Regions from separate parts of the Homo sapiens genome. Here all the other regions are linked to region 2. The links are contacts of gene promoters, found by promoter capture Hi-C in human tissues and cell types (Jung and others, 2019). All regions are on one chromosome and are shown on one strand. Each heading gives the region's core, a stretch centred on a gene start or on the middle of the fragment in contact. The rest is flanking DNA. Distances are from core to core; before and after follow the strand shown. Region 1 has its middle 110 kb from the start of LINC02181. Region 2 holds the start of C16orf95 (chromosome 16 open reading frame 95). Region 3 holds the start of LINC02181 (long intergenic non-protein coding RNA 2181).

The links. The method cuts DNA at HindIII sites, captures the fragments that hold promoters and counts their contacts. A contact is called where the count stands out against the background at its distance.
Region 1: a contact is called between a fragment that was not itself captured here and the fragment with the promoter of C16orf95 in region 2, in 2 of the 25 tissues and cell types used here (lymphoblastoid cells and thymus).
Region 3: a fragment that was not itself captured here is called in contact with the fragment with the promoter of C16orf95 in region 2 in 2 of the 25 tissues and cell types used here (bladder and thymus).

What each region holds. Positions count from the first base shown.
Region 1 is chr16:86,945,294-86,949,316 of GRCh38, reverse strand. No RefSeq gene overlaps it. Among named protein-coding and RNA genes, the nearest start is that of LINC02181, 110 kb to the left of the region's middle. The HindIII fragment of the contact is 5,951 bases long and covers 1-4,023 here.
Region 2 is chr16:87,314,864-87,318,704 of GRCh38, reverse strand. It overlaps C16orf95 (chromosome 16 open reading frame 95), which reads left to right and starts at 1,313. Exons shown (of 7, transcript NM_001195124.3): 1 at 1,313-1,614; 2 at 2,882-2,933; 3 at 3,609-3,734. The coding sequence starts at 1,463. It overlaps C16orf95-DT (C16orf95 divergent transcript), which reads right to left and starts at 1,196. Exons shown (of 2, transcript NR_135180.1): 1 at 983-1,196; 2 at 662-848. RefSeq lists enhancers at 1,286-1,735, 2,992-3,492. The HindIII fragment of the contact is 14,678 bases long and covers 1-3,841 here.
Region 3 is chr16:87,056,578-87,060,814 of GRCh38, reverse strand. LINC02181 (long intergenic non-protein coding RNA 2181) reads right to left here and starts at 3,031. Exons shown (of 3, transcript NR_126008.1): 1 at 316-3,031. The HindIII fragment of the contact is 4,704 bases long and covers 60-4,237 here.

The DNA.
Region 1 (4,023 bases), core at 841-3,340, 370 kb after region 2:
GTCCCGGCTCATCCTGTGGGGTAGGAAGGAAAGGCTCCAGACACAATTAGAAGTGCTTCAGAGCGAGTGGAAAGTTCTCAGGAAACGTATTATCATTAGAGCTGGCTGCTTGCTTCCCTGGACGGGGAGAGGGCATGCATGTGCGTCTATGGTGGATGCACTCACTGTGCGACGTCCTATATGAAATCCTTCTCCTCACAAAAAAGTGAAAAAATGGGCTTGCTTTCTTGCGTGAACTTTTCTTCCTGCTGTGTTTCTAAGAGTATCAGAGAGGCTGTTGACTCAAAGGGCAGGAGCTAGGCGTACCTGGTTAAAGAAGGTCTCTGATTGCCTTGTAGATTCAGAAACTTCCCTTAGCCCCTCATGCCTCAGTTTCCCCATCTCCAAGTGGTTTGAGAACAGAGAGGAGGGAATTGCTTAGAGGACCTCCAAGGTCCTCTCTGGGTCCTGGGATTCTTTCTTTTGGCAAAGAAAAGTCAGAGAGGCAGTGTGATGTCACTGCTGAACGCGGGGCCTCCGCAGCAGCCTGAGGGCTCTCCATGCCAGCTTTGCTCCCTCTGCACTGTCCTGACCTTTGGAAAGTGTCTCCCCCATGGCTGTCAGTTTCCCCATCTGTAAAATGGAGATGAAAATGGAAATAACTGTCTTTGGGTTCCATCCTTTGAGGTAAACCTTTTGGGAGATTGAGTCAGCACACACGCAATGTGCGTGAAACTACCCAGCACTGAGAGAGCTTGTCCATCTCATGTGTTTCTGGAGAAGGTGGCGTCTTCCCTCCACACCTCTTCCTCCAGGTGATAGCACTGAATGGTCAGTCCTAGGGGGCTCAAAGAGAGGATTCCATTGGGAACTGATGGAAATTTCCTAGTCCAGCCTCCTTCTTTCACCTGCATATGCTCACCGCCCTCCAATGCTGGTCCCGGAATTTAGCTCAGAAAATAACGCATGCACACAGGTGATAGAGATGTCTGGGTACGTAGGTACACCTGGGTGCACATGCGGAAACTCCTAGAAGGACTGGCGTCATGAAGATGTGTGGCGTTGGTGGGGGCGGAGGTGCTCAGGGCAGAGCCTTTCCTGGCAGGATTTGTCCGTGGAAGCTCGGGGAGTGGGAGCAGGAGCAGGAGCAGGAGCAGGAGCAGAGTGGCTGAGTGGGCTCAATTCCTGTGAAGGGCAGGAGCTTCAGAGCTCCTGGGCTTCCCTGTATCATTCCTGGCGTGGCCACAAGGACCTTATCTAGTGGCAGGGCAGAGGCAACAGCGGCACTAATAGCAGTAGCTGTCACAGCAGCGTGTCATGGTGTTGGACACGTAGTCTAAGTTTTTAAAATACATAATATGTTTCACACAGAAGCTTATTTTCGTAACACGATATGGCATGGCAGGTACTAGTATCTTCAGGGTACAGATGAGGAAACTGAGACACACAGAGCGCAGCAACTCATCACAGTTGCAGGGTGAGAAGGTGGGTGAAGGGGCTGTGGCTTCGCAGCCATCTCTGCCATCTGAGCCCTACGCACTGACCTTTGTGCAGGTGGGGACGCCCGTGGCTTGATGTGTCTCTGGGTGTGCAAGTGTACGATGAGGGTCCTGGCTCGGGACGCTCAGTATGGGTTAGCAGCGGGCAGCAGGTTTCTCAGCCTGCCTCTGTCACTCGGGAGTTGGTTCTGTGAGCTAGTTCTCCCCCTGTGCCTCAGTTTCCCCATATGAGGATAACAAGACCCTCTCCTAGGGCAGCTGTGAGGAGATGAGAGAAACCTGTGGCCGGGTAGCTCAGTGCCTGGCTCGTTGAAGGGGTCCATAAGTGGCAGGCAGAGGACGGGTTGGGCCTGGTGGACCCCAGAGCTCCTCCCATAGCTGGGACTTGCCACTCCGTAAACTCGTCAACAGGTTGTCTTCAAAGAAAATGTTCAAGGGAAAGTGTTCACCCTTCACCATCCTCTTGAGGACAAAGACAGTGGTTCTGAGCATGGCCCTTGGAGCACCCGTTAGCCACACTGGCCAGCAGAGCAGTTCTGGGAGGCCAGAGGGTGTTGGATGGCGAGGTCTGCGGAGTGACCGAGTGACCACGCAGAGAATCCCCTGGCCCCTTCCCTCATCCTGAGGTGGCCAAGGACACCAGGAGGAGGGAACATGGGGCTGGTTTGGACCAACAGGTGGAGCGGGAGGGTGCACACACCGTCAGCAGCATCAGCATGTTGGGGGACGCGGCAGGAGAAGCCAGGAGCCTAGCTGCTCACAGCAGGATGGAGATGATGAGGCCTGGAGGGGGTCTGCAGAGCTTTCCCAGGCACGGCAGTTGAGCTGGGCTGCAGACCCCCACCTGATGGTGTGGGGGAGAGGGGGTGAGATTCCAAAAACTACTGGATGCTATGTTTATCACCTGGGTGGGGAAACAGTCTGCACACCAAACCCCTGCGACAGGCAATTTACCTGTATAACAAACCTGCTCGTGTACCCCTGAGCCTAAAATAAAAGCTAAAAAAAAATCCCCCCTTGGAGCAGAAAAGGGAGAGAGACAGGGAAGCGGCTGAAGGCAGCAGCCTGTCTGGGGAGGTGGGGGTCAGGCGAGGGAGGAGTTTGCTTCCCCAACCTGAGCAGTTTAACCTGCAGCCCTTACTCACCCGAGGGTACCTGCTGGGGCCCAATGCCTCCAGGGGTGTTTGTTCTGACTGCCCAGGCCCCAGCCAGGCTGGCCGTGAATATTTTCAGTGTCATCTGATCTTTCCATCTCCTTGGCTGTCCTGTATAGAGGACCAAAGGACTTTATTTCAGGACATTCCCATCATTCCTGCAGGGTGACACATACACGATAACCATATCTGTATGCACGGTGGTGGGGTAAGCAGAGGATTTGGGGGCGTCCCTGTTTCCTTTCTGTAAAATAATTACAGGAAAATAGGATGCTAATTCTATTTTCATTTACATGAAATAAATAATAAATGACTTTATATTTGAATAGGCAGTGCCCAAATGAATCATTTCAAAAATGTTAATGAGAAGCTTTAGCGTACTTCTGTGAATGTAACTTTCTTTTTCATAACAGTCTTATTGAGGTGTAATTAATCTACCGTAGAATTCAGCCATGGAAAGTTTCCAGTTCAGTGATTTTAGTGTCCTCACAGATTTATGCAACTATCACAATAATCAATTTTAGAACATTTTCATCATCGCCCCCGAAAAACCATGCTTGTTAGAAGTCACTCCTTTTACCCACCACCTCCCCAAACATAGCTTTCTTAAAGGAAGTCAGGTTTTATGCTGGAAATAGCTATGTGCAATTCTTGGCTGACATGTGAACGTCCCTCTTCAAAATCTTGAAGTCACTATCGATGTGAAACTTTGGTTGCACAGGTATGTGATAAAAAGATCTAGGAAAAATTTCAGAAAGTATTTAAAAATTTGGAAGAGTTTAAGTGACTATGGAAAGAAAGAATCCCATAGGTCGTTCTTTTCTTGGCTGAATACAATGCTGACGTTTACTGTGATAATGAGGGTATGCCCTAAACTCGGCTGGACTTGTTTGATTGGGTATTTCACAGTGCTGGTGCTGCTGGAAGCTGCGGAACACACACGCATGGTTAGAACAGCTCTCGGCCCGTGGCCACCCAAAGGGTGCACCTGCAGGGAAACTGAGGCCTTCCTCTGGACTCCGTGCTTCCTCAAGGTCTCTCCTGAAAGGTCTGCATCCTGCCATGTGCTGACGGGGCTGGCGCCGTCCGTCCTTGCCCTGAGCCCTGCCGTGTTGGCGTGGTTGAGGGGTCTGCTGCCACGCTGCCTCTCCCAAGGAGGCTTGGGCAACCCAGTGAGGAGGAAACCTTGAATAAACTTCAGGAAGAGCAAATCCATTCTCCCACTTTCCCAGAACCCAAAGGGCTTCCACACTTTAGGGATGTGTTGTTTTTGAACCTGAGCCCATCATGGCCCTGGACATTGATCAAAGAGAGTGGCTTGTTTTTCCTAAAAGTGTGCGGATGGGTCCGATCAGCAGAATTTCAGGTGCAGTGACTCAGCTTTTCCTCTG
Region 2 (3,841 bases), core at 64-2,563:
TCTTGGGTGGGTGAGGGCAGTGAAGAGCTATTCTTGACATGGAATGACAAGACCTAGTGTGCCCGAGGTGAAGGCCTGAGCGTCCAGGGGAGCATGAGCCTGTCTTCTATGCCCTGCTGTGCTATGGCAGTGTTTCAGTGTGCTCTGGAGGAAAACAGCAGAGAAGCCGAGTGCTCCAAAGTGGGCAGAAATGAGACAGGCATAATGTGCTAGGCTAATGGTGACTCTTGGAATTTTGTCATTAGCTACAAAGAGGGCAGTGACATGATTTACACACACACACGGGGTGGGGTATCTGAAATATTAGGCAGCTAGTATGGCAGGGGCACCGTCTAATCAGCATGGATGCTGGCCAGGAGAGGACATGTGTATGTGCTGGCTGGAAACAGTCCTGCTCATAGGTCACGATCTTAATGATTAAATAACAAGGCAAGAAATCCGAGAGGGCAGTGCCTGGGAGCACCCTGTTTGCTCTGTGGCCAGAACGCAGCACACTGAAGTATTGCCCATCAGGGTAAGAGGTGCTCGTGATGGTTTGGGCAAATACAAATATTAATCCAGAGTATTTGAGTCTACATGAAAATACTGAAAAGTGAGGGAAGACCCAACCGTTTCCAAGAAATACAAATTGGAACTGGCGATAACTTAAAGAACATAATCAGAGAGGCAGAGGGCATTGGGTTTTACTAAAATATGAAGACATACGTCCTGTCTCCACGTCAGCAACTGCCCAAAGTACACGCGTTCCAGCGAAAAGAGCGGGTGGGGTGGGGAGGCTCAGGGCCAGCCAGAGCTTCGGTGCTTGCACGCCCAGGCCTCCGGGTGACGACTGCTTCCAATTCCGCGCCCTTTAAACCCCATGTTGTTAAAAAAAAAAAAAAAGAAAGAAAACCTATTTCTCTAAAAGTCACGATTCGAGCCCCACCTGAGGACGCAGCGATCCAGCGCCAACTCATTATCTGAGATAAAGGAGTGATTTTACCAGAAGCGCCTATGCAAGACGCAGGGCCCCGCGCGGGCTGCTCCCACCTCTTTCTCTCCTTGCAGGCTACCGAGACCCTGGCTGGGGCGGCCGGCGGCCCCTCCGGCCCATCCGTCGGAAATGATGAGTGGCTCCAGTGGCCGGGGTCCGCAGGACCTACCCCAGCGGGCATGGCGGGAGCCCCGCAGCCCCACACAGCCGCGCTCTGAGCCGCTGACCCCGCGTCTCTCGTGAGGGACCAATCAGCTGCCAGCTAAGGTCACATACCTAGAAGGCCAATTTTGATTGGCTGGGCGCGGGCTAGTCAGCGGGACGGGCGGGCGCGCGGGCGTTGTTGGGCTCCTCTGAGCGGTTGAGGTTGGGGCTGGGGTTGAGCTCGGGTTGGGTTCCTCCTGGGGCAGGAGGGAAAGGCGGGAGCCAGGGCGTCAGGGCCTGCGGACGATGTGTGTGTGAAAGGGCGCGTCAGCCATAAGAAGCCATATGCGTGCGAGCCGGTCCCCACCGTCCCCGCGGCGTTGTCACCATCATCATGAGGCCACTGGAGCAGCCTCAGGCGCTGCTGCCGGGGGGCCGGGCGCGGGGTGCGTCGGGCTCTGCAGGTTGGCACTCACACCCAGCGCGCAGGATGGCAGGCAAGTGAGTCCTGAATCCTGCCCGCGGCTACCCGACACCTCGCCTGTGAGTTCCCGGCCCGGCATTGCTCCATGACCTATGCACAGGCAGAACTCTTGACCGCCACCCACAGGAACCTCACTTACATTGGCTTAACAAAAACGCAACTGATGGTTCCACATAACTGAAAATGTCAGAAGTAGGCCTTCAGGCATGGATGTATCCAGGTACACATTGACCATGGTCCTGGAAGGTTTCTCTCCATCTCTCAGCTTCCTTCCTTTTTGCTGGCTTCCCTTGTGGAGGCAAGATGATCACCAGGACCTCCTGAGGTTTACATGTTATCAGATTATCAACCTCAACAAAAAGGAGATTCTTTTTTTTCCCAGCTTTCCAGGCTGGGCAGTGGTGAGTTTGGCCCACCTGAACTACAAGGACTGAGATGGCTGTGGCCCCCCCCCTCCCCACCAGGAATATAGCAGTGCTGTCATTACCAGAAGGGGCCTCGGATGCTGTGGAGGGCAGTGCCCCATCCTCTGTTTTCAAGCATTATCTGGGAGAGTTGATGCGTGAACCTATTACTCTCACAAAAATAGCAATAATAATAATGGTTATTATGACAATGAAACCCAAAAACACTTATATCGCTCTTACGGTTTCCACATACAAAGCACTTTGACCCACTACTGTCAGGGAAGCAGGGCTTTGCACCCACTGGAGACGCTTCATCCAGCCAACATTCAAGCAGTTTGTTGGGGAGTGGAACAGGGAAGAGCCACACAGGCTGTGTAACCCCAAGTGCTTTGTCATCCCAGAGACAAAGCACCCGGGTTTTTATAGTGGAAGGAGGTTCATTAATGGACAGTTTGACGATGTTTTTTCTTCAGTATTTCAGTAAGTTGAGGGTGTCTGACAGATCATCCTAGGTGATGTGATTGGCAGCTACATGTCTTGGAAAGTTCTCAGCAGGTTGGAATGCTCCTGTCTTTTCTGATGCTCCAAGCACAAGTGTAGCTGGAGTCAGCTTGAAGCTGGTTGGCTTGGGAATGCAGGATTCCATGACAGCCAGCCCCCAGGAGCCCCTAGACATTCACGCATGAGCTAGCACACGCCTGCTTCTGATGTCACCCTCTCACTCTTCTTGGGCTCAGAGGATCCCCCCATCCCCACCACCCGTGGGCTTTATTATTAAGAGTCAGTTCTGAGAAGACAGGTCCAGGCCTGTGCTCTAGCATCCCTGCCCCCTAGTTTACACAAACCCTAAGCTTTTCTGTTCTTCTCTTCTAGGAATAGCACATTTCAAACCTACAAGAAAGAAGTGTGCCTCCCCCGTCATTCGGTAAGGAAAGCAAATCCTCAGCCACTGGCCCTGACCCCAACATATCCCTGTGGGGTGAGGAGAGCAGGGAATGTGGGTCCAGAAGCTGCATCCCATGAGAGAATCCTCCAAACACAAAAGTGTGGTTGCAGGAGCTATCCCTGGGCCTCCAGAACACCTCCCAGGCCCTCACAACACCTCAGAGTTCAGGAGGCCACCTAATATACCTGCTCTGGGCATCAGCTTCTCCGTGTGCCCCTGGAGGTGATGGCAGCACCTCTCCTTCCTGCCTGAGGGTGTTGCGAAGGTCACATGGGATGGATGTGGAAGCTCTTGCACACCAGAGTGTGACAGATGGCCATAAAGGCAGCACTCATGTGCGCATAAGCTCTAGAGCTGCTTGTACATGCCCATTTTCAGAGGGGACCACGAGACTTGCTCATTGTAGCACAGCAGGAAGCAGCTGAGAATCCCAGCGCACCTGATTTGCAAGCTCCGGGGGATCCCCCTCCAAATGACCTTGGAGGCCTCAGGGCGAGCCACGGTAGCCTGCCTCTTTCCAAGCTGCAGTAGGAGCTGGGGACCCTGCCCCCGGACACCATCTTCCTGAGCACGGATCTACTGTGCTTGAGAGCCTCCTGTCTCCCTGCAAATGCAGCATCAAGCTCAGTTCTGTCATTTCTGGATCTTACTCAGATGCACCCTGGCCCCTGGGCCATCTGCTGTGAATGCCAGACCAGATTCGGGGGCCGCCTGCCTGTGTCCAGGGTGGAAGCAGCACTGCCTTACTGGGTCCCTCTGTCCCTGAGACCCCGAAAGCAGGTAGGTGACTTGAACCAGGAGGTCTTCCCCTAGGGTCCAGGGTGAATGTCAGTTGACCAGTCACCCCTCAGAATTAGAAGTATTATATGAATGGATATTTTAACATT
Region 3 (4,237 bases), core at 1,162-3,661, 260 kb after region 2:
GTGGGTTTACAGAAACACCTCAGAGGTTTGCATTGCCAGCAAGTGCGTCCATCTGCACCTATCACTGACTTGGAGTAATGGTGAACTCTTTCAGATTCTGGGTCCTGTGTTTGTAAACTTCCCACTTTTCGTTTTTTGAGAACGTTATTTTGATCTCTGCAAACGAAGGTGGGGAGATGTAGTTACTTCCCTCTTAACAGCTGAATGCAATCAGAGTGCTTTTGGGTGTTGTTTTAGTTAAGAGGCAAAAGAGAAGAGAAAAACACACCCAAACAAACCAGCAGACACACTTGGCATCCAGTGTTTAACGCTCACCCTTTAGTCCCGTCAGTGGGGGAGTGAATCCTGCAGGATACACCACGTTTCACGTCCTCCCCATTCTCCCTGCACCCCGTGAAATTCTCTTGGAAGGAGATGGAAAACTGTGGGGGTTTCATTTAAGGGTCAGCTCACATGTTTAAGCTGCATGTCAGGAAGAAGAAGGCTGAGATCCTTTGAGCAAACAAGTGCCAGAAACTGAAACCCCTGCCTGTCTCTTGTGCAACGCCTCCCCAGCGGTTTGGAGACTTGAGCATTTGAATGGGAGGCGTCCCAAACATTTCAGTCCAGATCTCCTCCAGGAGAGGGTGCTGGGGACCCAGGTCTCTCTCTAGGGCTTTGAAAGAGGCTTGCTCGGTGGAGACAGAAAACATGGGAGCAGTCCAGGGGAGCAGTTGGGCTTTCACAGAGCAAAAGCTGCCATGGCCATCCGGTTCCAGGCACTTGCCATGCAGACATGGGCATGAGGCCTAGCCAGGCCAGGAGCTTGGACAGGGCCACACTGCTACTCAGTGACAGAGGCTCTCCTGACCACTCCAGAGCGCCATACTTTTCCTTGGAACGCTAATCTTGGTCATTCAGTCCTTTAACAAATGCCTTAGTTTTTAATTTGTTAGGTGACCATCTCCCATGACTAGAATCTTTGTTGTGATTGCTATATTCCCAGTGCCTTGAGTGATCCATGAGCTGCACTTATAAGAAAGCTCGGTAATTATCCAGAGTTTACAAGGGAGCGGGTGCGGCATGGGATAACTCAATGCTACCTCCCAACAAGTCAATGAGGTAGGAAATGTCATTACTCCCATTTGACAATCAAGGAAACTGAGTCCCTGAGAGGTTGAGTGAAATTTGCAAGGCCACACAGCTAGTGTGGAGAGTTGTGGGGCAACAGGGATTTGAATCCAGGCTGTCAGATCGAGGACCACACATTCTTAACTGGGCCTCATAGTGCTTTGGTAAATAAATATTGGTTGAGTGAATAAATAAGAAGATGAAATTGAAAAACAGTGGGGTGCGATGTCTGCAGCGAGAGTTTCAGAGGAGGGCAGATTTGGGTTCACACAGGCCTTTACTCTCGTTTACTGATGACCGGTAAATTCCTTAAATTTTCTGAGCCTCGACAGTTTCCTCCTACATGAAATGGAACTAACCATCTTTCTTTCTGGGTTGGGAAGACTTGAGCTTGTGAATGAAGGACTTGGCCCATAGCAAGTGCTGAATAAAGGGCTGCATTATGACTATCTCTGGGCCAGCCCCCAAAGCCCAGACGTAAGCGGGCAGAGGAGCTGCTGCCCGTAACACATCTCTGACTCCAACCAACTGGGTGACCCTGGTAAGTTTCTCAGCTTGCTGTGTCTTGCTTTTCTCTTCTGTAGAGGATGGCTCACTCTTAGTTCCTGCCTGGAAGGCTTGCATGAGGAAAGGGGGCCAGGCCCAAAGTCAGTACTGAATGATCGTCCACTTGGAGGTTCACATTAGGCACTTGTATCCTTGCGGCACTCACATGTTGGGATGCGTGGCCCACTGGTGGCTGGCGGGAATGCCCGCGCTCGGTCATGCTTCGGTGCTTTTGCACACGCTGGCCCTTCGCCCTGGAGTGTTTTTCCAACCAGTGAATCTCCTTTCACCACTTAAGTGCACTGCGTCGCTGAAGGGTAATTATCTGAGTGTTCCAACTCTCCCTCTTGCCCTTTCTGGGCTGTTCTATCCGAGAGCATATTTGTCACTTAGCGCTGGGTCACCTGGGTTACCCATCTCTCTGACTGTGGAGTGTGAGGGTTAACTCACGTCATCCCAGACCAACTTGGTAAAACGCCCCTGGCCACATTTCCCTACGGATACAAGATGTAAGGGTGTGACATTGTGGTAGAAGAAGGCATGAGTGTGATAGAAGAAGGCATGAGTGTGGCAAAAGGAAGCTTTGTTTCTAAGATCTCCAAACCCAGGCCCACGAGCGGCATCCATGCATTCACTCTTGCAGCTGGTTGCCGTTCAATCAGCAAGGAGTATTTATTGAGCACCTGCTATGTGCCCGGCACTTGAGTGGCTCTAGGTTTAAGGCTATGAACAAGAGACCAGGGCGACCCTTACCCCTCCACAGCTTATCAGAAGGACGACACCGCACGGGCGATAGCAGGCCTGGGTGTGGCAGGCTTGGTGGGGATGGTGGGTGTCTCAAGGAGGAAGTTTCAGGGAAGGCTTTGGAGACGGGGCCTCTGAGCTGAGGTGCAAAGGATTAGCCTGGTGTAGGGACGGGGCAGAGGCTTTGCAGGCACGGGGAGTGGAGGGTGCAAGACCGCGGCGAGGGGGCCGGCGAGGGGGGCGTGGGAGTCGGGGCAGGACCCTGCTGGACACCTGGTCTGTCCTCAGTGCCGCTTTCCCCAGGGCCACACAGGCTGGCTCTGGTTATACCCATTTTACAGACGGAGACACTGAGATCAGGGAGCACCGGTGGCCCTGGGAAATGGCCGGGCCTGCTCGTTAATCCCCAGGTGAGCGGGATTCGCTGGCCTGGGGGGCTCCTCTCCCAAGAGACCATCTCCAGGGACGTCATAGTTCATGTCCTGAGCAAGCCGGCAGGCTGGTTTTACCAAGAAAGTAAATAGGTAAATAAAACAAGTAATACAATAAAACAAAGAAACCGATCAACGACATCTTGACCTTAGTATGCCCGGGTGGTCTGCTTTTCGGTGTCCCCAAGGAGAGAGGAAATGTTGTAATTGGATGGCATTGCTGTCAATCATCTCAGATTGGCGGAGGCTGCGGAACCCCTGGGCCTGGGAGGTTGTTGCCATGGAGACGGCCTGCGGCCATGCGGGGCGGGAAGCCCCCTCCTCCTCTCCTGGCCGCCATGCCTGTGGCCTCAGGAGACAAGGTGAATGCCGCACCTGTGGACTCTCAGCCCGTCTAGGAGGAGGATAAAGCACAAATCCGAAATGCAGTGTCCCTGGAAGGGACGCCCTCTCTGGGCCCGCTGGCTCCCGTCTCATTGGGCTGAATGGGGTCATGTGACCACTCTCCGCTGCAAAGGAGTCTGGGAAATTGCATTTTGTTGTTGTTGGAACTCATTTTGAAGCCAAATGAAACGAGAATCGTGTCAACGAGGAAGGTTTAGGGAGGGGGTGGATGTGTAGGCAACCAGCAGAGGGCCCCGAAATCCGTGAAGATCAGGTCTGACGGTGGCTCCATGCTCCCTCCATTAAAGGGCTTCACAAAAACCCTTCCGAAAAGGTATTTCTTGTTTAATATTCGGAATATTTCACTCACTGCCTCATTAGAAAGACAATAAATTAATGTGTTCACGACTTAGAAAAATCAGGAGGAATTAGAGGAATCGGGATTTTTGGGCCAAGAGTCTCCTTGAAATAGGCGCGGGTCGTTGATGATTATCTTTCCACACGGAAGGAAATCCAGGCTCAGGAAGGTCTGGTGATTTTCCCAGAGTCACACAGGCAGAGGGACTCAGACCACAGAACCCCTGCCTGGCTCCAGAATCCCAGCCGCGATGGGCGATGCGGGGGAGTCATCGCAGGTGGGGGCCTGGGAGGCCTGGGAGGCCTGATCTCATCCTCCAGTGTGGCCCTGCCATGTTGCGCCCTGGGGTACCCAGGGCTTCCTCCCCCTCCTCCCGCCCTACCCGGCCCACACCTCTCAGGCTCCCGGTTGGTCAGGGATTTTTTGCAAGTCAGTTATCTGAGCTCAGACTGCTGGCCGTGGAGGGAACCCTTCTCACTGCCTCTGGCTGAAAGCGTTTGCCTCACCTCTCTAAGCCCCGAGGGGACAGAGGAGGCTCTATTGCAGCGGGCGGGCCTGACAGGTCACAAGGAGAGCCCAGATGTGCCGGCAGCCGCCTGTGTTTACACCCATCCCCAAGCATCGCAGCATCGGGGGCAAGACGCTAAGTTTCTCTCAGGTCGTG